Linked DNA regions of Homo sapiens: regions 1, 2, 3, 4, 5 and 6 are each linked to region 7. The links are contacts of gene promoters, found by promoter capture Hi-C in blood cells and fetal thymus (Javierre and others, 2016). All regions are on one chromosome and are shown on one strand. Each heading gives the region's core, a stretch centred on a gene start or on the middle of the fragment in contact. The rest is flanking DNA. Distances are from core to core; before and after follow the strand shown. Region 1 has its middle 240 kb from the start of ABRA. Region 2 has its middle 350 kb from the start of ABRA. Region 3 has its middle 360 kb from the start of ANGPT1. Region 4 has its middle 260 kb from the start of ABRA. Region 5 has its middle 330 kb from the start of ANGPT1. Region 6 has its middle 330 kb from the start of ABRA. Region 7 holds the start of ANGPT1 (angiopoietin 1).

What was found. The method cuts DNA at HindIII sites, captures the fragments that hold promoters and counts their contacts. A CHiCAGO score of 5 or more calls a contact.
Region 1: a fragment that was not itself captured here is called in contact with the fragment with the promoter of ANGPT1 in region 7 in 1 of 17 cell types (erythroblasts); the score reaches 5.0 in erythroblasts.
Region 2: a contact is called between a fragment that was not itself captured here and the fragment with the promoter of ANGPT1 in region 7, in 2 of 17 cell types (megakaryocytes and erythroblasts). The highest score is 7.6, in megakaryocytes.
Region 3: a contact is called between a fragment that was not itself captured here and the fragment with the promoter of ANGPT1 in region 7, in 2 of 17 cell types (erythroblasts and megakaryocytes). The highest score is 7.6, in erythroblasts.
Region 4: a fragment that was not itself captured here is called in contact with the fragment with the promoter of ANGPT1 in region 7 in 1 of 17 cell types (erythroblasts); the score reaches 6.0 in erythroblasts.
Region 5: a contact is called between a fragment that was not itself captured here and the fragment with the promoter of ANGPT1 in region 7, in 1 of 17 cell types (erythroblasts). The highest score is 5.4, in erythroblasts.
Region 6: a fragment that was not itself captured here is called in contact with the fragment with the promoter of ANGPT1 in region 7 in 2 of 17 cell types (erythroblasts and megakaryocytes); the score reaches 7.0 in erythroblasts.

The regions. Positions count from the first base shown.
Region 1 is chr8:107,011,964-107,014,864 of GRCh38, reverse strand. No RefSeq gene overlaps it. Among named protein-coding and RNA genes, the nearest start is that of ABRA, 240 kb to the right of the region's middle. The HindIII fragment of the contact is 5,672 bases long and covers 1-2,901 here.
Region 2 is chr8:107,114,763-107,117,613 of GRCh38, reverse strand. No RefSeq gene overlaps it. Among named protein-coding and RNA genes, the nearest start is that of ABRA, 350 kb to the right of the region's middle. The HindIII fragment of the contact is 1,022 bases long and covers 916-1,937 here.
Region 3 is chr8:107,139,624-107,142,534 of GRCh38, reverse strand. No RefSeq gene overlaps it. Among named protein-coding and RNA genes, the nearest start is that of ANGPT1, 360 kb to the left of the region's middle. The HindIII fragment of the contact is 4,031 bases long and covers 1-2,911 here.
Region 4 is chr8:107,032,798-107,035,812 of GRCh38, reverse strand. No RefSeq gene overlaps it. Among named protein-coding and RNA genes, the nearest start is that of ABRA, 260 kb to the right of the region's middle. The HindIII fragment of the contact is 7,125 bases long and covers 1-3,015 here.
Region 5 is chr8:107,167,938-107,171,192 of GRCh38, reverse strand. No RefSeq gene overlaps it. Among named protein-coding and RNA genes, the nearest start is that of ANGPT1, 330 kb to the left of the region's middle. The HindIII fragment of the contact is 1,573 bases long and covers 1,135-2,707 here.
Region 6 is chr8:107,097,363-107,100,427 of GRCh38, reverse strand. No RefSeq gene overlaps it. Among named protein-coding and RNA genes, the nearest start is that of ABRA, 330 kb to the right of the region's middle. The HindIII fragment of the contact is 309 bases long and covers 1,158-1,466 here.
Region 7 is chr8:107,496,534-107,499,661 of GRCh38, reverse strand. It overlaps ANGPT1 (angiopoietin 1), which reads left to right and starts at 1,744. Exons shown (of 9, transcript NM_001146.5): 1 at 1,744-2,400. The coding sequence starts at 2,104. The HindIII fragment of the contact is 4,855 bases long and covers 1-3,128 here.

The sequences.
Region 1 (2,901 bases), core at 96-2,595, 480 kb after region 7:
CCAGGAGTATTGATGGAGACCTGATTCTGGGCTGTCTTAGAAACTGGAGTATGCTTGCATCCTGGGGCTGCAGGGGCAGGCCTGGCACTGAAAAGGCCTGGAGCCTGGGTCTTGAGGTAGGCCTGGTCCTGGAGTGGGCCAGAAACTCAGGACCCCTGGAGCTGGCTCAGTATTTTAGTCTGTCCAGAGCCTGGAGCCACTGGGGTTGGCTTGGCTCATGGGACAAGCCTGGAATCTGGGATTGTGTAATCTGGCCTGGCATCAAAGAGGGTCTGAAGTTTGTGGCCATGAAGATCTGCACTGTGCTGGTTTTTAATTGGGCAAGCCCAGTATTGGGATCTGAGGCAATGTCCAGTACTCACTTTACTATCCTTCCCCATGCAGAGGGTCTCTCTCTCCATTCTGTTCTATCTCTGGTTGGGAGAGGGGTGACATAGGTAATGTAAAACTGTTCTTCCTGCACTCTTAAATGCTATTTTCTTATTTTTCTGCTAAGCCCAGGTGCTGTAATCTCTCCTCTGGTTTCTTTATCTCTTATGAAGTATTTTTGTGCATGAATAGATCAAACTGATGCTTCTATGGGGGATTAGAGCTAGAAAGCCCTATTCTGCCATCTTATTAACATTCCCTCCTGATTATATTTTTTATACTTTGCTATATTTTTCACATTCTCTTTATGAAAAGGAAATATGGCTAAGGATATAATACAAAATTAAATTTTTTTTGTTATTAGAAAGGTTGATAGCCAGAATGATACAAAAGTGAAATCATTTTTATTTATTTATTTATTTATTTATTTATTTTTGAAACAGGGTCTGACTCTGTTGCCCAGGCTGGAGTATAGTGGCCCAATCTCAGCTCACTGCAACCTCCACCTCCCAAGCTCACACAATCCTCCCATCTCAGCCTCCCAAGTAGTTGCGACTACAGGTACTTGCCACCACACCCAGCTAATTTTGTTTTTTTTTGTGTGATTTTTTTTTTTTTTTTTTTTTTTGTATAGACAGGGTTTTGCCACACTGCCCAGGCTGGTCTTAAACTCCTAAACTCAAGCAATCTTCCTGCCTCGGCCTCTGAAAGTGCTGGGATTATAGGTATGAGCCACTGCACCTGGCCTGAAACCATTTTAAATGGGGCGAAAGAGTGCCTCCATACTCAATTCAAATAAATAAGACAGAATCAATTCTAGATTAGAAAAAAATAGTATTTAAAATTCAATAACTAACCAGAGAACAATATCTTTAGTAAAAATGTTTTCTTCCTAATAAGAGAAAGGACTAATAAGAGAAAGGAATCATTGTCTATATTCAGAATTGGGATTTCAGTCTTTTTTTTCCTAGTTATCTTGTGTTTCTTCTGATTGATGTCTACAACTCAGTGTTTGTGTTACTGAAGTCTGCGTCTTCTTCTCCATTGTTAAATCATATTTGAGACCATGTTATAACATGTTATATGAGAAACCAAGCACAGACAAATCTTGAGTCAGGCACCTGTATTCATATCTTGCCTTCAGCACTTTTTCTGAATGCTAGCCAGTTTCTTAATTTCTATGTCAGTTTCATCTTCAAGATGCAGATTATAACGTCAAAGAGTTTTAAGATGATTAAACGGATAGTTCTGTAAGCTGGTGATAATCTCTGCCACTCTACTCTGAAACTTCACCCTTCCCACCTCACTTTCATTGCTCAGGTTCAAATCCAGGCCCATCCTAGTCCCTATTTTTCTTTCACACCCCACATCCAACTTGTCAGCAAATTCTGCTCTCTCTGCCTTCAAAATAAATGCAGGCTCTGATCACTTCTCACCATCTCCACTGCCACCAACTGGGTAAAAACTGCCATCATCTCTTTCCTGGATTATTGCAGCAGCCTCCTATCTACCTTGCTATCTATGATAAATTCTGTGCAAATAATGATGTAAGCCAAGTCATGTTATGCCTCCACCAAAATCCTTCAATGGATGCCCATTCTTGCTCGGAGGAAAAAGTAAATTCTCAACCAAGGTCTAGGAAGGCCTACAAAATCGAATCTCTCACTCCCTCTGAGCTTAATTCCCTGAGCTAATTTTCCCTGTAATACTTTTCTTCAGTCACACAGGTCTCCTTACAGTTCATCTAAGACAAAAGACACATCTTGCTTCAGGACCTTTGTACTTGCTGTTCCCACTCATGCCATGCTTCTACTCTAGAGGGGCCCATAGTTTGCTCTCACTCCTTCACATCTTCACTCAAAAATAATAATCTCAACAAACCTTCCCTATTTAAAATTGCAAATCCTCCTTTTGAATGCTCCATCCCGTTTCCTGGTTCTATTTTTCTCTTAACATGTAGTATTCTGTAGCTTATTAATGCTATTTATGCCATTTAGAATACCACTTTATGAAGGTAAGAATTTGATGTAACCCTTGGGCCTAGAACAATGTCTGGCATCTAATATTTAAAAAGCATTTTTTAATGAATGAGTGAGCACATGCCCTCAGAACAGTATCTCGAAGATAGCAGGTACCATCTAAATTTTTAACTACTTTCATGTTTTATGATAATACCATGAAATCACTTAATTGAAAAGAACACTTTATCTAAATTTTTAGAAGATGATCATCTGACCTTTAAGCTCTTTCTCAACAGGGAACCATTAAAATCCCATAAATTTTATAAAATGAGCCAGAAGAATCTACTTATTTTAAGAAGGTAACATGTATGTTGATTTCTTGGAACTGAGTTTCTACTATACCACACACATTTATCCACATGCAACAAGAGATGTCAACTAACAAACTACCCCCTCTGTTTAGACAATAGGTAGTCCAAAGCAAACATGTGATTTAAAATGATATTAGTAAGAAAAGTTAAAGAAGTTTGCTAGGCAACTATAGTCTTTGCAGTAGAGTCAGCTATAGTGA
Region 2 (2,851 bases), core at 177-2,676, 380 kb after region 7:
TGAATGCACGAGAAAAACCAAACACTGCTTAAACTGGAGGAAAAAATATTTTAGACCATTCAGGTTGTAGTGTTATTGCTAGAAATTTGTTGCAGCCAGAAATTATTATTTTGTTTGTGGTCTGCAATGCACAACAGGCTGTAGTGGCCTCAAGAAATGTAGAATAAATATGCAAACATAATTAAGTTAGAAAATTATTAAATTAAATTTAATTTTTTCCCCACTGAGTTATATAATGATTCCAGGTTTTCTCAGTCACTAGGTCCTTCATGTTTTAAAACAAACTGCATAAGACAACCTGTATTTGAAAAAGTAAAAATCTATGTAGGTCACTTTGAATTCTGATATTCTTGTACAGAGCTAAAATTAGCAATGTATTGCATTGCTTCTTAAGTGTGTTCTGAAATTATTAACACATTCTCCAAGAGGCTAAACTTCTTCCAGGAAGGCTCTTATCTCAGAAGAGTAAAGCTTTTCTGTTTTTTTCTAAAACAGCTATAAAATAAGACTAGTATTTCCTGCCTTCCTCAAGACATGGTAGTATAGTTGATTGCTGAGATGTTTAAAAAGATCTATATGGTTCTATAGAATAAAGGACAAATAAAGCATTATTATATTTGAACATATTTTCCCCTAATGAACTCTTCAGATTTTGGGGGGTTGGTATCATTCCAACAATTATAAATTAGGAAGAAATGTGTGTTTTCTCCCAAAGGGCAGTTGAACTTTGTTCAGAATGCTTAAGAAAACATCCGGTGGGATGTTTGCTGATGGAGCTATGTCAACTCATCTTCAAGATTCCCCTCTAGAACAGTACAACAGTTATGAGTGCAAATGCCATGAATATTTTATTATCACTGAGATCTCATCTCCTAGTGGTCACAGAGCTGCTCTAAACAGCTACTGCTGGAAGCTTGGACATGTTGTTTATTCAAGAACAAACTGAAGGTTAAATGATAACATAAAATTTTAAGAGTTAGCATTAGTCACAGGAACAAAACACTAGAGACATTTTTAGCCAATAAGAAGTGTGTGCGTGTGTGTGTGTGTGTGTAATTCTTCTCCATTGAGAAGCATTTAAACATTAAACAGTTAACAAATAAAAATGTCTAAGAAGATCTTTACAAGACCTGAGCCATAGAATATTACAGTATTCACTGGATGAGGTGGTTTGACCCTGAGACTCTGTCTCCTGTTCCTCATGTGTTGTCCCCCTCCAGGGCTGCAGCAAGCAGGCATCTTTCTGATTGAGAGATTCAGAAACAGGAACAAAGGTCATGAATGTGTGACTCTACAGAGAGAGGAATTTAAAAGGAGATTACTCAGATAGTTCTTCTGTTCTTTTGATCTCTTAATCAAATTATATTTAAAAAGTCATAATTTCAGGCATTCTAGAAACAGTCTTGATTTTTTTTTCTTGACAACTCCTTTTAGAATATATGGTTGATAGCTCATTATAAGCAAATCTCCAAATGGAGGCTAACTAAAGTCTTAAAGTATAACAATCACCAAGTGTAAATCTGAAAAATTTAATGTAAATCAGAAAATTGGAATGATTCATTTATTCATATATAATTACTGATTACCTGCTATGTGCTCAGCACTGGGCTGTGTACTGGGGGATGTAGCCATCCCACACATGGAACTCACAATATAGTGGGATGAGTTGTTTTTACAGCCACATATATCATCACACAAATGTGATGATAATTAATAACTACACACGCTATGCCAGAGTGCTATAATAAAGAGCATGTAGCTGGGGGACCTTGAACACACCATACTCATACGCACGCACACACACACACACACACACATATATGTCTTAGTGGCTGGAAATGTTTTTCTTGTTTTGTTCCTGTGCCTAACCCTAACTCCTTACAATTTTATGTTATCCTTTAACCTTCGCTTTGTTCTTGAATAAACATGTCCAAGCTTCCAACAGAAGCTGGTTAGAATGGCTCTATGGCCAGTAGGAGATGAGATCTCAGTGATTAATAAAAAAAAAATTCACGGCATTTGGACTCATAACTGTTGTACTGTTGTAGAGGGGGAATCTTGAAGTTGAGCTGACATAGCTCCATCAGCATGGAGGGATTTCTGGCCATTAGAAATGCAGAATGGCTTCATAATATTTCATGGTGCATACATACCACATTTTCTTTATCCAATCCATGGTTGATGGATACTTAGTTTGATTCCATGACTGGAAATCAGAGAAGAATTCCAAAGGAAGCAATGGTTGATCCAAAGATAAATAGAAGTTAGCTTGGCAAGGGATTGAAGATGAAGGATGTATGAAGACAGTTCCAGGCATTTAAATATTTTTCAAAATTCAAAACCAAGACAGACTTTATGTTTCAGGAGAGTTTTAAAAATGTATTCACTAGAGTCACTCATCCTCACAAACCAAAGTGAATATACTCTAGGCTGAGAGAGACTGATGGCAGAATCACTAAGCAGTGACTCCATCTCTGGTCTAACCACACCTTTAGGCGAGGTAAGCCACCTGTTACATGGAATGATATGTGAAACTTTGTAAGACCAGGTGAGCTCAAATATCACGACACATTGTTATCTTTCCATTCCACACTTTTATTTTTTACTTTGTTTTATATTCAAGAAATACTCTATGCAGGTTTGTTACATGGGTGTATTGTGTAATGGTGGGGATTGAACTTCTAGTGTATCCATCACCCAAATATTGAACATTATACCCAAATGGCAATTTTTCACCTCTTCATCTTCCTCCTTTTAGAATTCCCATTATCTATTATTTACATTTTTATGTCCATGTGTACTCTTTGTTTAGCTCTAACTTATAAGTGAGAACATGCAGCATTTGATTTTC
Region 3 (2,911 bases), core at 150-2,649, 360 kb after region 7:
TCTACAAAATGCAGATTGTTTCTGTGTCTAGAGTGCTGCTCTTCAACAAGAATAGCTGTGTCCCTCAGTGCACCCTAATGATAACTATGCTGATTATACCCCACTTCAGCAAAAGCAGCTGCTGCATGAAACTGTGAACTTTAATCGCTGTTAGCTTAGAGGCAGCAAAATACAACTGAAAGGGGTATAAATTATAGACTGTACTCATTATCTTTGTAACCCATGTTTCATTAAGTTCCTTGTTATTAGTGCATGTATTAAGCACCTGAGTATCCTATTTGTGACTATTTTGAAAAATATTTATAAGTGGACAGCAGAAAATGTATAATAGTGAAGAGTTTGGACATTGTGAGACTTACTGTGAATGAGCTTGGGCCTTTGAGGAATCATGGATATTTTTGAATACATTTCTAAAGAAAATAAAGTCACTCATTCCTGGAAAAAAAAATCAAACACTTATAAAGAGAGCCTGATGCAAAATTATTTCATCTACTCTTTGATAGTTCTCTAGGTAGCCCTAAATATTATGTATTTGAAAAAAATAAGGAATAATTAATTATTACTGCCTAATGTAAAGCATTTCCAATATTATATCATGATGTACTGAGCTTCATGATTATTTGTTTATATTACACATATACTCCTTATTGACATACCCATATATTTTTCCTCATGTCATATTTACTTCACATTTGTTGGTTTGGGATTCTCAAAATGTCCGCTAATTTTTTCAAGTCCCCCTTTCTCCACTCTAGTCCATGTGGTTTTAGGGAGTTGGCTCTACCCTTAGATCCAAGGGATGGCACGTCACCAAGATATGGCCAACTAGAGCCCCCAGGTCTCCTGTCCCTGCTCAGGAATAAGCCTGTATCCCAGTAAAAGACAATGAGACACAGTTTTATGACATTTGTTTAAATCATTGGGTAGAATTCTAAAAAGATAGATTGTAAGTTAAAACTCTTGGCAACCACCAGGGAAAAAAAAAAGCCTTTCTGAGACTTGAGCCAACACAGAAGCCAAACTGAAAGATGGATAGAAGTTCAGCTGATATTATTTGAGCCCCTGGATCTAGATCTAGCCATGCATGATTTTTTTTTAATTTAGGAAAGTATTATTTTTATCTGTCACTTGCAGTTGGAAGATTCTTGACCAATTTGATGTAATAACTTCTTTCACAAACCTATCTTCGTATAATCACACTTCGCTATATCTTGCCTACTTTTAGAAAGGTGGAGCTCATTTAAAAGTGTAACTGCAAACATTGCAAGATCCTTAAGTAAAGGATGGCATGTTTTCTGAAAGGAAGGGAAAAGACCAATAATTAGTAATAATTGTTTGATGCTGGAATTTGATTTTTTTGAAAGTAAAATATAATAATCAAGATGGGAGATAATCACACTTTAAATGATAAAGGTGGAGAGGAAGAAATGCACAATGGAAATATTGAAGAGGAAAAATTCAGCACTTGTTAATATTTACCCTCAGGCTTTGTGCTTTGGGTAATAGTAGCATGATTCAGTGCATTTGGCAACTGGGGAGGGGCAGAAATTATGCAAGGGAAGTTTGCTATTTTATCTCTGCTGAGTTTTCTTTGATTTGGCACCAAAACAGCTTGTTTGAAAGCTCTGAGGCTTGGATCATAGATAGATAAATCCATTTGCTTGTCTTGTGTGTAGAGAAGCTGGTTTAATGAGAGTAGGAGGAATTAGTTACATGTTATCCTGCAGAGATTCAAGCACAAGGTCTAGGCTGGGATGCCAGAAGTTCACAGTTGTTGTGAAGAAAACTGTGTAGAACCTGCCATGGGGAATCCCAAAGGTAGGGGAGGTAAACTGGTAAAGATGCAAATGTTCTATTTGACCATTTGATGGGGCCAAGGAAGACTAGCTAAAAGCAATGTCTATCCCATGGCCTGTATATTTAAGAGAAAACCCACATTTTAACACAAATTAAGGGAAAGAAAATTGGAATTCTTGAGTTCTACTTTAATGTGAATTTAGCCAGATACCAATAGACATTTTTCATTATCCCCTTCTAGTTTGTCTGTTTTTAAAAATAATGTGGCAGATTAAAACACTCAGATAATGTGTTCAATGTAAAATGTGACACCAAGCAAAACATTGTGGTTGCTCTCTTTTTATAAGGCACCATGTTTCCAAACTACTAGATTTATGGTAATTTACCTAGTGGGAAAATACCCTTCCAAAATTGTAGTATAAATGTTAGTTTAATAATATCTGATTATTTACAGTATATGGCATTGGGAAGGCTTAAATCATGTTAAAAAATATCTTTATACTTAAGCATCACCTTAGCAGAATTTAAATAACTGAATATATATAAATGTTAATAATCTCACTTTCTATAGAGAAAGTGTATCAATCATTTGGAACAAAGAATAAACATACCATACTACTTTATTTTCAAGGAATTATTCAGAAATAGACCACTATTCATTTATATGCATGGCTTGCTTGAGTTAATATATCTCGATAAATTTTTAAAAGCATTTATATCATCAATAGAATAATATGCATAGGATTTTGTATGATTCAGGAAAAAATTGTGAAAGTTATATTAATACATAATTCTAATAGGATTTCTAAGCATGCTTCCTATACTTTACAGAGTCATGTGATTATTAGCTATTTACTCATCCCTTTTCTTACAAAAACTAACAGATGGATATTTAGGGATAAACAAATTTGGACTTTTATAAGAATACAAGCATTTCTCATTTTGTTGAACTTTGCTTTATTGTGCTTCACAAATAACTGATTTTCTATAAATTGAAGATTTGTGGCAACCCCACATCAAGCATATGTACTGGTGCCATTTTTCCAAGAGCATATGCTCATTTTGTGTCTCTGTGTCACATTTTGGTGATTCTCATAATACTTCACTTTTATTA
Region 4 (3,015 bases), core at 120-2,619, 460 kb after region 7:
GTAATTCAGCAAGGATAATTAACAATTTGATTGCATTAATGACAGAATTCTTTTACAAGACTAAACAGTATTCATTGTATATATATAATACATTTTTATATATCATTCATACATTAACGAACACTTGGGTTGATTCCATATCTTGGCTATTGTAAATAATGCTGCAGTGAACATGAGAGTGAATGCAGGTACCTGTTTAATATGCATCCCTTGAATATATACCTACTAGTGGAATCCTAGGATTCCTACTGGATCATAGGACAGTTCTATTTTTGATTTTTTGAGTACATACCTGTATTACTCCATTCTCACACTGCTAATAAAGACATATCTGAGACTGGGTATTTATAAACGAAAGAAGTTTAATTGACTCATAGTTGAGCATGGCTGGGGAGGCCTCAGGAAACTTAAAAACATGGTAGAAGGAGAAGCAAACACATCATTCTTCACATAATTGCAGAGAGAAGAAGAATGAGAATTGAGCTAAGGGGGAAATCCCTTATAAAACTATCAGATCTTGTTAGAACTTACTATCACGACAATAGCATGGGGGGAACCGCCCCCAAGATTCAGTTACCTCCCACCAGGTCACTCCCATGACATTATGGGAACTATAAGTCAAAATGAGATTTGGGTGGGGACACAGTTGAACCCCATGGACTGCATACAGGTTTTTGCAACTGCTGTACTAATTTACATTTCCACTACCAGTGTATAAGTGTTCTCTTTTCTCCACACCCTTGACAACACTTGTTATCTTTTGTCTTTTTGATAATATGTTAATATTATCAACATTAATATGCATTTCCCTAATAAGTGAGGTTAGCGTTCTTTTTCATATACATCTTGGCCATTTGCATGTCTTCTTCTGAGAAATGTCTATTCAGATTTTTTGCTACATTTTAATTGTGTTGGTATTTTACTATTGATTTGAGTTATTGATATATTTTAGATATTAATCCCTTATCAGATATATAACTTGCAAATATATTTTCTCATTGAAGTGAAGGTTGTCTCTTCACTCTGTATCCTTTGCAATGCAGAAGCTCTTTAGTGTGATATAATTCCATTTGTCTATTTTGCTTTTGTTGCTTGTGATTTTAAAGTTATATACAAAAAAAGTATTACCCAGCTCAAAGTCATGGAGCTTTTCCCTTATGTCTTCTTCTAGTAGTTTTATAATTTTAGGTCTTATATTTAAGTTTTACTCAATTTTGAGTTAAAATTTTTTTAATGTGATGTAAGAAGATGGTCTAGCAGCAGAAGTAGTAGTAGTGGTAGTAGTAGTATTGGTAGTCCTGCATGTGAATATCAAGTTTTCCCAGTATCATTTGAAGAGAATGTCCTTGCCATTGTGTGGTCTTGGCACCTTTGTCAAAAGTCAATTTGCCATAAATGCATTCATTTATTTCTGGGTTTTCTATTCTATCCCACTGGTGTATTGTCTGTCTTATGCCGTTATCATATTATTTTGATTATTATAGCTTCATAATGGATTTGAAATGAAGTAATAAGATGCTTCTGGCTTTGTTCTTGCTGAGGAATGATTTTGCACTGGGGTCTTTTGTGATTTCATACAAATATTAGGTTTGTCTTTTCTATTCCTATGAAAAACGTCATTGGAATTTTCATAGGGGTTGCATTAAATCTGTATATTGTTTTGGGTAGTATGACCAATTTAACAACATTAATAATTTCAATCCCTTTACATGGGATATCTTTCCATTTATTTGTGTCATTCTTAAATTTTTTATCAATGTTTTATAGTTTTCAATATGTCTTTCACCTGTTGGTTATATATATTCCTAAGTATTTTGTAGCTATTATAAATGGGATTGTTTTCTGAAATTCTTTTTCTAGTAGTTCATTACTAGTGTATAGAAATGCTAGTGAGTTTTGTATGTTGGTCTTATATCCTGCAACTTTATTGAATTTATTAGTTTTAACATTTTTTATGGAGTCTGAAGAGTTTTCTATATACAAGATTGTTAAGTGTAAACAGAGACAATTTAAGTGCTTCCTTTCCTATTTGGATGCCTTTTATTCTGTTCTCTGACCTAATTGCTCTGGCTAGGACTTCCAGTACTATGACGAATGGAAGTGGCAAGAATGAGCATCCTTGCCTTGTTCCTGATCTTGGAGCTTTCAACTTTTCACTGTTGAATATGATGCTAGCTATGGGGCTTGTTGTAAATGGTTTGAATTGTGCCAACGTACATTTCTTCTATACCTAATTAGTTAAGAGTTTTATTATAAAATGATGCAAAATTTTTTAAATGCCTTTCATGCATCTATTAAGATGATAGTATGGCTTTATCCTTCATTCTGTTAATGTAATATATCGTATTTATTTATTTACATATACTGAACCATCTTTGCATCCCAGCAATAAATCCCACTTGATCATTCTGAATAGTTCTTTTAATATGCTAATGAATTTGGTTTGCTAACACTCTGCTGAAGATTTTTACATCCATGTTCATCAGTGATATTGGACTGTAATTTTCTTCTCTTGCAGTGTCCTTGTTTGGCCTTGGTATCAGGGTAGTACCAGCCTCATAAGTTTGGAAGTTTCCTGCCTCTTCAATGTTTTGGAAGAGTTTGAAACAGTTTGGTATTAGTTTTTCTTTTTTCTTTTTTTTTTTTTTTTTTTTTTTTGAGACGGAGTCTCACTCTGTCGCCCAGGCTGGAGTGCAGTGGCGCTATCTCGGCTCACTGCAAACTCCGCCTTCCGGGTTCACGCTATTCTCCTGCCTCAGCCTCCCAAGTAGCTGGGACTACAGGCGCCTGCCACCACGCCCGGCTATTTTTTTGTATTTTTAGTAGAGACGGGGTTTCAACGTGTTATCCAGGATGGTCTCAATCTCCTGACCTCGTGATCCACCCGCCTCAGCCTCCCAAAGTGCTGGGATTAATTTTTCTTTAAATATTTGGTGGAATATAACAAAGAAGCCATCAGTTCCTGGGCATTCTTTGATGGAAGACTGTTAATTACTGATTCAATCTCCTGACTTA
Region 5 (3,255 bases), core at 672-3,171, 330 kb after region 7:
GTTAAGTGGTTTCATGGCTTTATTATACATTCATGCATTTTGCTAGTGATATTTTTAAGTAAATAGTTCACAGATTTAATTTATAAATCCAACTTTTGACAAATCTGACCAAATATATATATATATTAAGCCCTCTAAATGGGAAACATGTCCATCTTTGGTTATGAATATTCATAGGCCTGAAAGCCTCCTTTACAGAATATTATGTAGCAAGCACCCTTGGCCCACACATCTGTGCTCTATTGTGTTTTCCTGAAAAAATCAACTCATTCAGGGACTATAAAACAAGAATTCGTATAAAAATGTATATAAGGAAGACACATTTCCCTTTTTAAAAGTTCATTCATCCATGACAAAGCTATTAAAAGTAGTTCAAGTTAACAATAAAGAACAAAAGATAATTGTGTGGATCTATGTGGTGGGAAGACCCAGACATGGCAGTCAAGTTAGAATGATGGAGACCCAGACACCAGACAGACCACAAGGATGTCCTCTGGGGACTTATTTGAGTATGAATAAAGAGTAGGAGTTCTACACAGATGTGCCAAAGACTCATGGTAAACAGCTGGCAGACATTCCAGTCAGTGAAGAAAGTGTGGTGCTGGAGAGTGCTGGGGTTAGAAGAGGAGAGGTGTGGCAGGACATGGGAATGGTGCTGGAAAAGAATGGGCAGCCAGCAACACAGAGAAGTTAAGGAAGATACCTGGGAAGTCGGGACCTGGGAGGTGCAGCTGTAGCATATACTAAGGGAGGAGACCACCCCTCATGCCCAGTTTCTGCCTCTAAAGAAAGAAGTAAAAACTAAAAGGCAGAAATGAAATCCACAGGCAGATAGCCCAGTGTGCACCCTGGGCCTGGTAGTTAAAAATCAACCCCTGACCTAACTGCTTGTGTTGTCTGTAGATTCCAGACATTGTATGGAAAAGCATTGTGAAAATCCCTGTCCTGTTCTGTTCTGTTCTAATTACCAGTGCATGCAGCTCTCAGTCACGTACCCCCTGCTTTCTCAATCGATCACGACCCTCTCATGCGGACCCCCTTAGAGTTGTAAGCCCTTAAAAGGGACAGGAATTGCTCACTCGGGGAGCTTAGCTTTTGAAACAAGTCTGCCGAAGCTCCTGGCCGAATAAAGCTTCTTCCTTCTTTAACCCGTTTGACGAGTTTTGTCTGCAATTCGTCCTACTACAGTACCAGGGGAGGTATGTTCAGGAATAAATCTCTGACACATCTGTGGGTCCTGGTCTCAAGAAACTGAGACATTGGAGGGGCTCACAAAGCAAGGATTGCAGCACAAGTGACCCTCCTTCTGATCTGAAAAGGATTCTCAAAAATGAGAAGGGAGAACTCCCCCTTGGCAGCACATATCAGAAACTGATCAGAGTAAAGGCAGTCCATATGCAAAGTATGTAACTCTACCTCCATCCAGCCTCCACTCTACCATAACATGCACTCTTACTGATAGAAAAGCATCTTGTTGTGAAGGTATGTTGGGGCAAATAAAAAATGATGGAATGCTGAAAATCATTGAAATAGGAACTTCGTCATAAAAGAACCAACTTAAGGAGCCTAGTTCATGACTGCAATGTCAGGAATGGATTTGAATTTAGGTCAATCATGATGCTGAGCTGTGAGCACCAGGCAGCTGGGTGTTACAGGAGTATCATGCACCTTAGAGTGAGAGTGGCCAGGGTTCAATTCCCAAGCCATTGCATACCATAAGGCATGTTTTTACATCCACTGACTCTCATTTTTCTACTACTTTAGATCCTCATGACCATATTATTTTTTTAATGTACACAGCACGTTTGCTATACTTTAGCTCTTCAGTGACTTATTCCTTCCACTACCTCCTTCAAAATCTGTCCCTTCCCATCCAGCTGGAAAATGGAGGGAAATGTCTTTACAATCTAATTTTCTAGGGCTGGGGCTCAGACAGAGGATGCCAGAGAAGGCACAATAGAAAGTGAAGAAGAATAAATTGGAAGTTGAGTAGGGAAGTAAGGATCATTAATAAGAGCTCTTGGTGGGGCAGAGGAGGAAGGCTGAGGATGACTTGGGGCCATCCAGTGTAAAACCCAAGAAGCAGGTGCTGTGTGCATGGCCAGAGGTGTTTGTGTTCAGCATTCCCTTTGTGTGTGTTCTCAGGTTCCTGGCCCCCGCTTGCCATCTGTGACAATCATCTCTTTATCCCTCTCTTCTTTAGCTCTCTGAAAAATGAACTGTAGTTTCAAAAAAAAAAAAACCCACAAATATATAATTACAAATCAAGTTAAGTGCTAAGTAAGAAAAATACAGAATGAAATGAGAAAGTATATTAGGGGCCTAATTTAAGTATGGGGGGTTGGATTTGAGAATTGGTGAAATAGAATAAGTAGAAGCTAAACATGTACAAACTAGGAAAAAGGGGGTTTCTAGGCAGAGAGAGGTACAAAAGTTCTATTTTAGCATCACTTGTGTTAATAACTCTAAAAAGCAGTCATCAGTACCCAGAAACCAGCTGGGTTTCAGAATCAAATGATCTATGAATGCTGTGATGCTTACAAATGGAAAAAACAACAATACTTAAATTCCTAAATAACGAGACTAAATCAGCAATATAAAATAAGAAATTAAATCAGTAGTAATTACATGGTTCTAGCCATTTCCATTTTGACCCAAAATGGGAATTTTCCCAGGTCCTAACAGAGGGAAAGGGGAAATAAAAGCTTAGAAATCTTGAAATGTTCCAGGTTGTCTTCCTCACCATTCTGTAAGCTGCCACTGATGCTTAAGAAACTTAGACTCTCTCACATGCTTCCAGAAAAGTTCCAGAAATCTCCTACAGACTATCTCCCATGTGCTTCATGGACTAGGACTCTTGACCTCTTCCATTTTTCCTCCTCTTTCATCGATTCTCTGTCTAAGCAACCTAAAGAAGCAACTCTCCTGCATTCTCATCTCCATTCCTGCTGGGGCTGGCCAGGAACTGACAGGCACCAAAGGGAGGTATTGCCAATCTGCCATAGCTGTCTTGAGACAATTGATTACTTACATCAAGGGCTCTACTGACTGCACCTAGAGTAGCTTCTGTCATTTCTAGAAACTTCTGGCACTATTTCTCATCATTGCTAGAAACTCCTGAAAGTTTATGGTCTCACTGTTTCACGAAGGTTACACTGAAAATTAGACTAGGTTTCACTTATTTCTTTAGTGCTGAATGAGGATTTAGTCCTGAGTCCTTTGGACCTCTGGCAGAAAGACAAGCCCAAATGATCA
Region 6 (3,065 bases), core at 63-2,562, 400 kb after region 7:
AGATTCATGCCATTCTCCTGCCTCAGCCTCCCGAGTAGCTGGGACTACAGGCACGTGCCACCGTGCCTGGCTAATTCTTTGTATTTTTTAGTAGAGACGGGGTTTCAATGTGTTAGCCAGGATGGTCTTGATCTCCCGACCTTGTGATCCACCCGCCTCAGCCTCCCAAAGTGCTGGAATTACAGACGTGAGCCACCCCACCCGACCTCCAGGCTGGTCTTAAACTCCTGGGCTCACGTAATCCTGCTTCAGCCTCCCAAAGTGCTGGAATTAATAGGCATGAGCCACCACACCCAGCATTTGATTCTTTTATCAATATCTGTATCTATCCTCTTGGTACATCAGGCTCCCTAGGCTAACAGCACCAAAGTTTCTGAGGTTTCAACTAAACTCCAGATATTCCAAGTTCCATTTCTCCATCCTTTATGTTTCATTTATGAATTCCTTCAAAAGGGGACCCCCACAAGTCACCATAGTGTTTGTAGGAGAAAAATGGGGAAACCCCAGCAGAAATAGAAAAGAGCACTTTAAGAAGACCCAAGTACCAACAGATTTACAAAAAGTTGGCCCCAGATATGGTAATGCATGCTCATGAAAGATCATTAAGTCCACATTCACAATTCAAGCATCCAATAATCCAGGTTTGGAGAAGGTCTGACAAATCCAGAAAATCTTCTGTGATGTGATGTGCCAGTCTTTTGGGATCAAGCAGGTCTGGGTTGAATTACTTCAGTCTAGTTTGCCCTGTGCCAGTCTTTTGGGATCAAGCAGGTCTGGGTTGAATTACTTCAGTCTAGTTTGCCCTGTGCCAGTCTTTTGGGATCAAGCAGGTCTGGGTTGAATTACTTCAGTCTAGTTTGCCCTTTCACATAGAAACCATTTAATGAGAAATGTATCTAATTACTAAATCTAAAATACAATGCTTTTCCATGTGTCTCTACATATTCTTGGATGTCTTAATTCTTTTTGTCATTTTCACAGGCTTTTCAGGATTTTGTAAACCAATTTGTTTAAGTTTATTTCCAACTTTTTTTAAAACTATTTATAATATTTACAGCATCTTAAAAGAAAAAGTGTTGTTTTGTTCCCTTGTAGGAATTCTTTCTTCTCTGCCTTTGGGAACTTAATATTGCCCTACCCATATTAAGAAGGAAGCTTTGTACACATTTTAATAGTTTTATTTTATTTTACTATTTTTGACTGCTTTAATGAATCCTTAAACACAAGGGACTCCAATTTTAAGCTAGCTAATCATTAAAACATTAAGTCAACAAACTGATATTACGTGAAGAAATGAGTTTGTTTGTTTAATTGGTTAGTTTTATTGTTTTTCCCCTTTCTTCCTCCATCTTTTCCTCTTTTTTCTTTTCTTATTTTTCTTCTTTTCTTTTTTTATACCTGGGATCCAAAATCAGTAGGCAGATTTCTGCTTTGAAACCTATGATAGTAAATGGAAAGCAGAAGCTTTTCCACTCACAGAAACTCCTATTGAGGCTCAGAAACTGATACCCTGAAATATCAAACACCCTGAAATACAGTGCTTTAACATGCTCAACTAAAGAAGCAAACTCAAGGTCTCTCTGACCTCCTGCCTACCCACCCTTGTCTCAATCCTCCATCTCTCCCAAAACACAGGATGAGGCTCTTCTCTGATGTCCCCTTATTTACCTAGAAACACAAACAAAATTATTTTTGATCTCTTCCCTGAAATGTCATTAATCAGAGAAGATTAAAATTCCTCTTACAAAGGAAGAGACTGAAAATTAAATATCACACCTAGAATGTAGATGAACTTTGTCCCAAACTACTGTCTGTTCTTAGACCCCATTCAATTCCCAAAGAGAATCATTTACAAACCATTTTATAGTCTTCAGGCCCATGGTTTTACAGCAACCTCCTCCGTGCACCCCATACACGCTTGCTTCTCCTCCAGTGAAAAGGGTATTTAAGCATCAACCATCTGGCCCTTTCTTTCAGTTTTCAATATTTTGCATGACTCCTGTGCACATAATACATTTGTTATGCTTTTCTCATTAACCTGTGTTTTGTTTTATAGGAGTATTGGCTGTGACTCTTTATGATTGGGAGGAAAGAGATTTCTCCCTTTCTGCCTCTAAATCCCCAACTTGCTGAAACTTCCCTACAATAGATTAGCTGAAGTTGGAATCACATAGGCAGGACTGATGCTCTTATGTCACTGTGTATCTATATACACACAATGGTATATCTATTCCAGTTGTCTATAACTGGTATCTTTTAAAATTGAGCCAGCATCAGGTATGATTGGTTGATACTTATGCTATATTAAACTTCACTATACTTCTGCACTGAGAATAGATTATTATTAATATCTTGGCTTTCATGGCCACTAATTTGCCCATAACACCGTACATTAGGGGTCCCCAACCCTCAGGCTATGGACCTGTACCATTCTGTGGCCTGTTAGGAACTGAGCCACACAGCAGAAGATGAGTGGTAGGGAGCAAGCATTACCACCTGTGCTCTGCATCCTGTCAGATCAGCGGAGGTATTAGATTCTCATAGGAGTGCGAACCTCATTATGATCTGTGCATGCAAGGGTTCTAGGCTGCGCGCTCCTTATGAGAATCTAATACCTGGTGATCTGAGGTGGAACATTTTCATCCCAAAACCATTCCCCCACTCCCAGCCCCTACCCCCACCCCACCCCCCAAGTCCATGAAGAAACCGTCTTCCACAAAACCAGTCCCTGGTGCCAAAACTGTTAGGGGCTGCTGCTATACATCATTATAACGCTGAATGTGAGCTGGAAAAATTGCCAGGCCAAACAGGGATATTATAACACACAATCCAATGCACCAACAGGTAATACAATTGTAACTGAGTACCCTATTTTTTCCCTCAACAAGTACAATTTTATTTATTTATTTTTAACTTTTATTGTAAGTTCAGGGTACAAGTGCAGGTTTGTTACATAGGTAAACGTGTGTCATGGGGGCTTGTTATACAGATTATTTTATCACCCAGGTATTAAGCCTAGTACCCATTAGTTATTTTTCCTGATCCTCTCCCTCTTTACACTCTCC
Region 7 (3,128 bases), core at 495-2,994:
GAAACAGGCTCTGAGTCAGTTTGCCTGAGTTCACATACTGGCGCCATCACTTGCCAGCTCTGTGAATTACATCCTGTTAGCCTTTCTGTGACTCAGTCTTCCCATTGATAAAATGGGGTTAAACGGATGATATCCGTGATCTTAGGTTTGTTGGAATGATTAAGTGAGATAGTGTGTAAGGAGTGCTTCGCCTGGAAAACAGTAAGGTCTTAATGCATGCCATTATTATTGTTGCACAGGAGTGATACATGACTCAATGAGGAGACACGCAAAAGTTCAAGAGGCTGCAAAAGTGGTTCAAATATTTTATTGCTGTGTTTGGCATAACTTGCTTCCATATCTGTCCAATCAGAAATTTGTTATTTGGTGTGGAAAGGACTGATGAATCTCGGCAAGGTTTCTTTCCCCAAGTAAATCGCATTTGTTCTGGAATTTGTTTTGACCTCTCCTCTAACTTCTCCCTAAATGCCCATCTCTAACCACTACGGACCTTCACCCACTGCCCTGTTCTCCTTCCAAGACATGGGAGATGACAGCTGTGGCTTCTGTTTTCACACCATGACTGCAGTTGTCTAAAAGCCCTCCCAGTTCCTAATGAAAATCCCAACTCATAATTCAGGTTTTCTGCATCTAGTAAAGATCTCAAAGCCGTTCCCTAAATTCTACAATTATTGCCTGTTTATGTTTATGGGTCCCTTTGTTCAAATGTTTATACGCTGCCTGTGGGAAATCATCTTCTGATAATTTTTCTTTCTTCCTTCACAGAAGCACAGAGATGTCTCCTGTACAGCCCATTGCTGGCTGTTAGCACACCTGATATATGCTTGTTCTCACATAGTATGTCTGTGCAGCCACAGGAGGTTTTTATGTGGAACTTCCACACCAGTGTTAAAGACAGCCATAGCCACCAAAGAGATCCTTGTAAAATACAGGATTAGGATATACCACAGGAATTAATAATTCTCAAGCCACTGCTTTAAATTGTAGCCACATTGTTTTTGTAGGGAAGTTGCTCAATTTATATACACAGAACATGAAGGGTTGCATTCTGATCAGGACACCAGTTTCATTTAAGAACCCTATACCAAAAGGTACTTAGATAACCCTCTTTAATATGCACATACTATATTGCTTTGTGCAACATATTGCTTTGAGCAACAAATGATGCTAATTTTCTTGCTAATTTGATCCTCTCTGATTATTTTCTTCAACTCCTAAAAGTCTAAGTGAATACAATGAAAGAATACCATCTGTAAAAACTGTTTTTTAACATATTTTTCCTCAGAGTCAAGAATACATGTTTTTTAAAGACATTTAATAATGATATGGGTTTATCATTCTCTATCAAAAATAATTCCATTGGACATTATGCCAATTTTCTTCTTAGGGTCCCTCGACTAAATAGTAACTTTAAAAACATACTGCTAGTTTGCTATATTTTAGTAGGTCAGCATGCACACCAAAAGTGTATTAAGGTGGACTGCTCTATTTATTGATTTGCCATGAATCTGCTAAAGGCTCAAGGCAATTGTCTGTGGAAAGGGGCGGGAGGGCCATACATGATCGAGGTCATGCGCATCTAGCCAATTTGTAAGACGATCCCGCCGCCCTAAGCCATCAGCAATCCTTAGTATAGGGGCACACTCATGCATTCCTGTCAAGTCATCTTGTGAAAGGCTGCCTGCTTCCAGCTTGGCTTGGATGTGCAACCTTAATAAAACTCACTGAGGTCTGGGAGAAAATAGCAGATCTGCAGCAGATAGGGTAGAGGAAAGGGTCTAGAATATGTACACGCAGCTGACTCAGGCAGGCTCCATGCTGAACGGTCACACAGAGAGGAAACAATAAATCTCAGCTACTATGCAATAAATATCTCAAGTTTTAACGAAGAAAAACATCATTGCAGTGAAATAAAAAATTTTAAAATTTTAGAACAAAGCTAACAAATGGCTAGTTTTCTATGATTCTTCTTCAAACGCTTTCTTTGAGGGGGAAAGAGTCAAACAAACAAGCAGTTTTACCTGAAATAAAGAACTAGTTTTAGAGGTCAGAAGAAAGGAGCAAGTTTTGCGAGAGGCACGGAAGGAGTGTGCTGGCAGTACAATGACAGTTTTCCTTTCCTTTGCTTTCCTCGCTGCCATTCTGACTCACATAGGGTGCAGCAATCAGCGCCGAAGTCCAGAAAACAGTGGGAGAAGATATAACCGGATTCAACATGGGCAATGTGCCTACACTTTCATTCTTCCAGAACACGATGGCAACTGTCGTGAGAGTACGACAGACCAGTACAACACAAACGCTCTGCAGAGAGATGCTCCACACGTGGAACCGGATTTCTCTTCCCAGAAACTTCAACATCTGGAACATGTGATGGAAAATTATACTCAGTGGCTGCAAAAAGTAAGTGATTGCTTTCAGTTTCTAATAGCACGGACCTTTTTCCTTTCTTGCACTGCAGCTAACTTAAAGTTCCTTAGGGGAGCATTTGTGTATTTACCTTTTGCTCCAGGGGGGCAGTGTTTGCAATTGCAAGACGGCTGTCTGGGTTTGGCTTCCTGGGTAAGCCAAGGTTTGGGGGCTTGCCCAAACCTATGAATGTGTGGGGGCACCCCGTTTGTGTGTCTAGCCCTGGCAAATTTTATGACATTTTTGGTTTCTCTTTTCTAAAGTTCAGCATTAAGGTTCTCTCTGTCAAAACACTACCTTAAGAAAGAAAGTATGTACCTCTTAAGCAAGTTGGTGAAAAATAAATAATAATGACAATATTAATTAATAAGATCAAATCGATTTTGCACCAGAAAATTTTGTGCCGCTGGGGTGGCAAATCATCACAAAGTATTTGTTTTTTTAACCTTTATAAAAATTAACATGAAGTGAGAGTAAATATAAAATATGATATTTGGTTGGAGAAATTGTATATTTATGTAAAGGGAACTGTTAGTTTCAGCAAGTGGTAGAATAGTAGACTGATTTCTGTTAAATATTTTTTTCTTCTGTCCTTGAGAAAAAAAATTAAAAAGATACATTGTAATGTTAACTGTCGGAAAGGGGTTGCTCGCTCACGATGAGGGCATGCTGGCTGTTGAGGAAGACATGCACCTGCAGATATGGGCTGAACGCAGCATGTA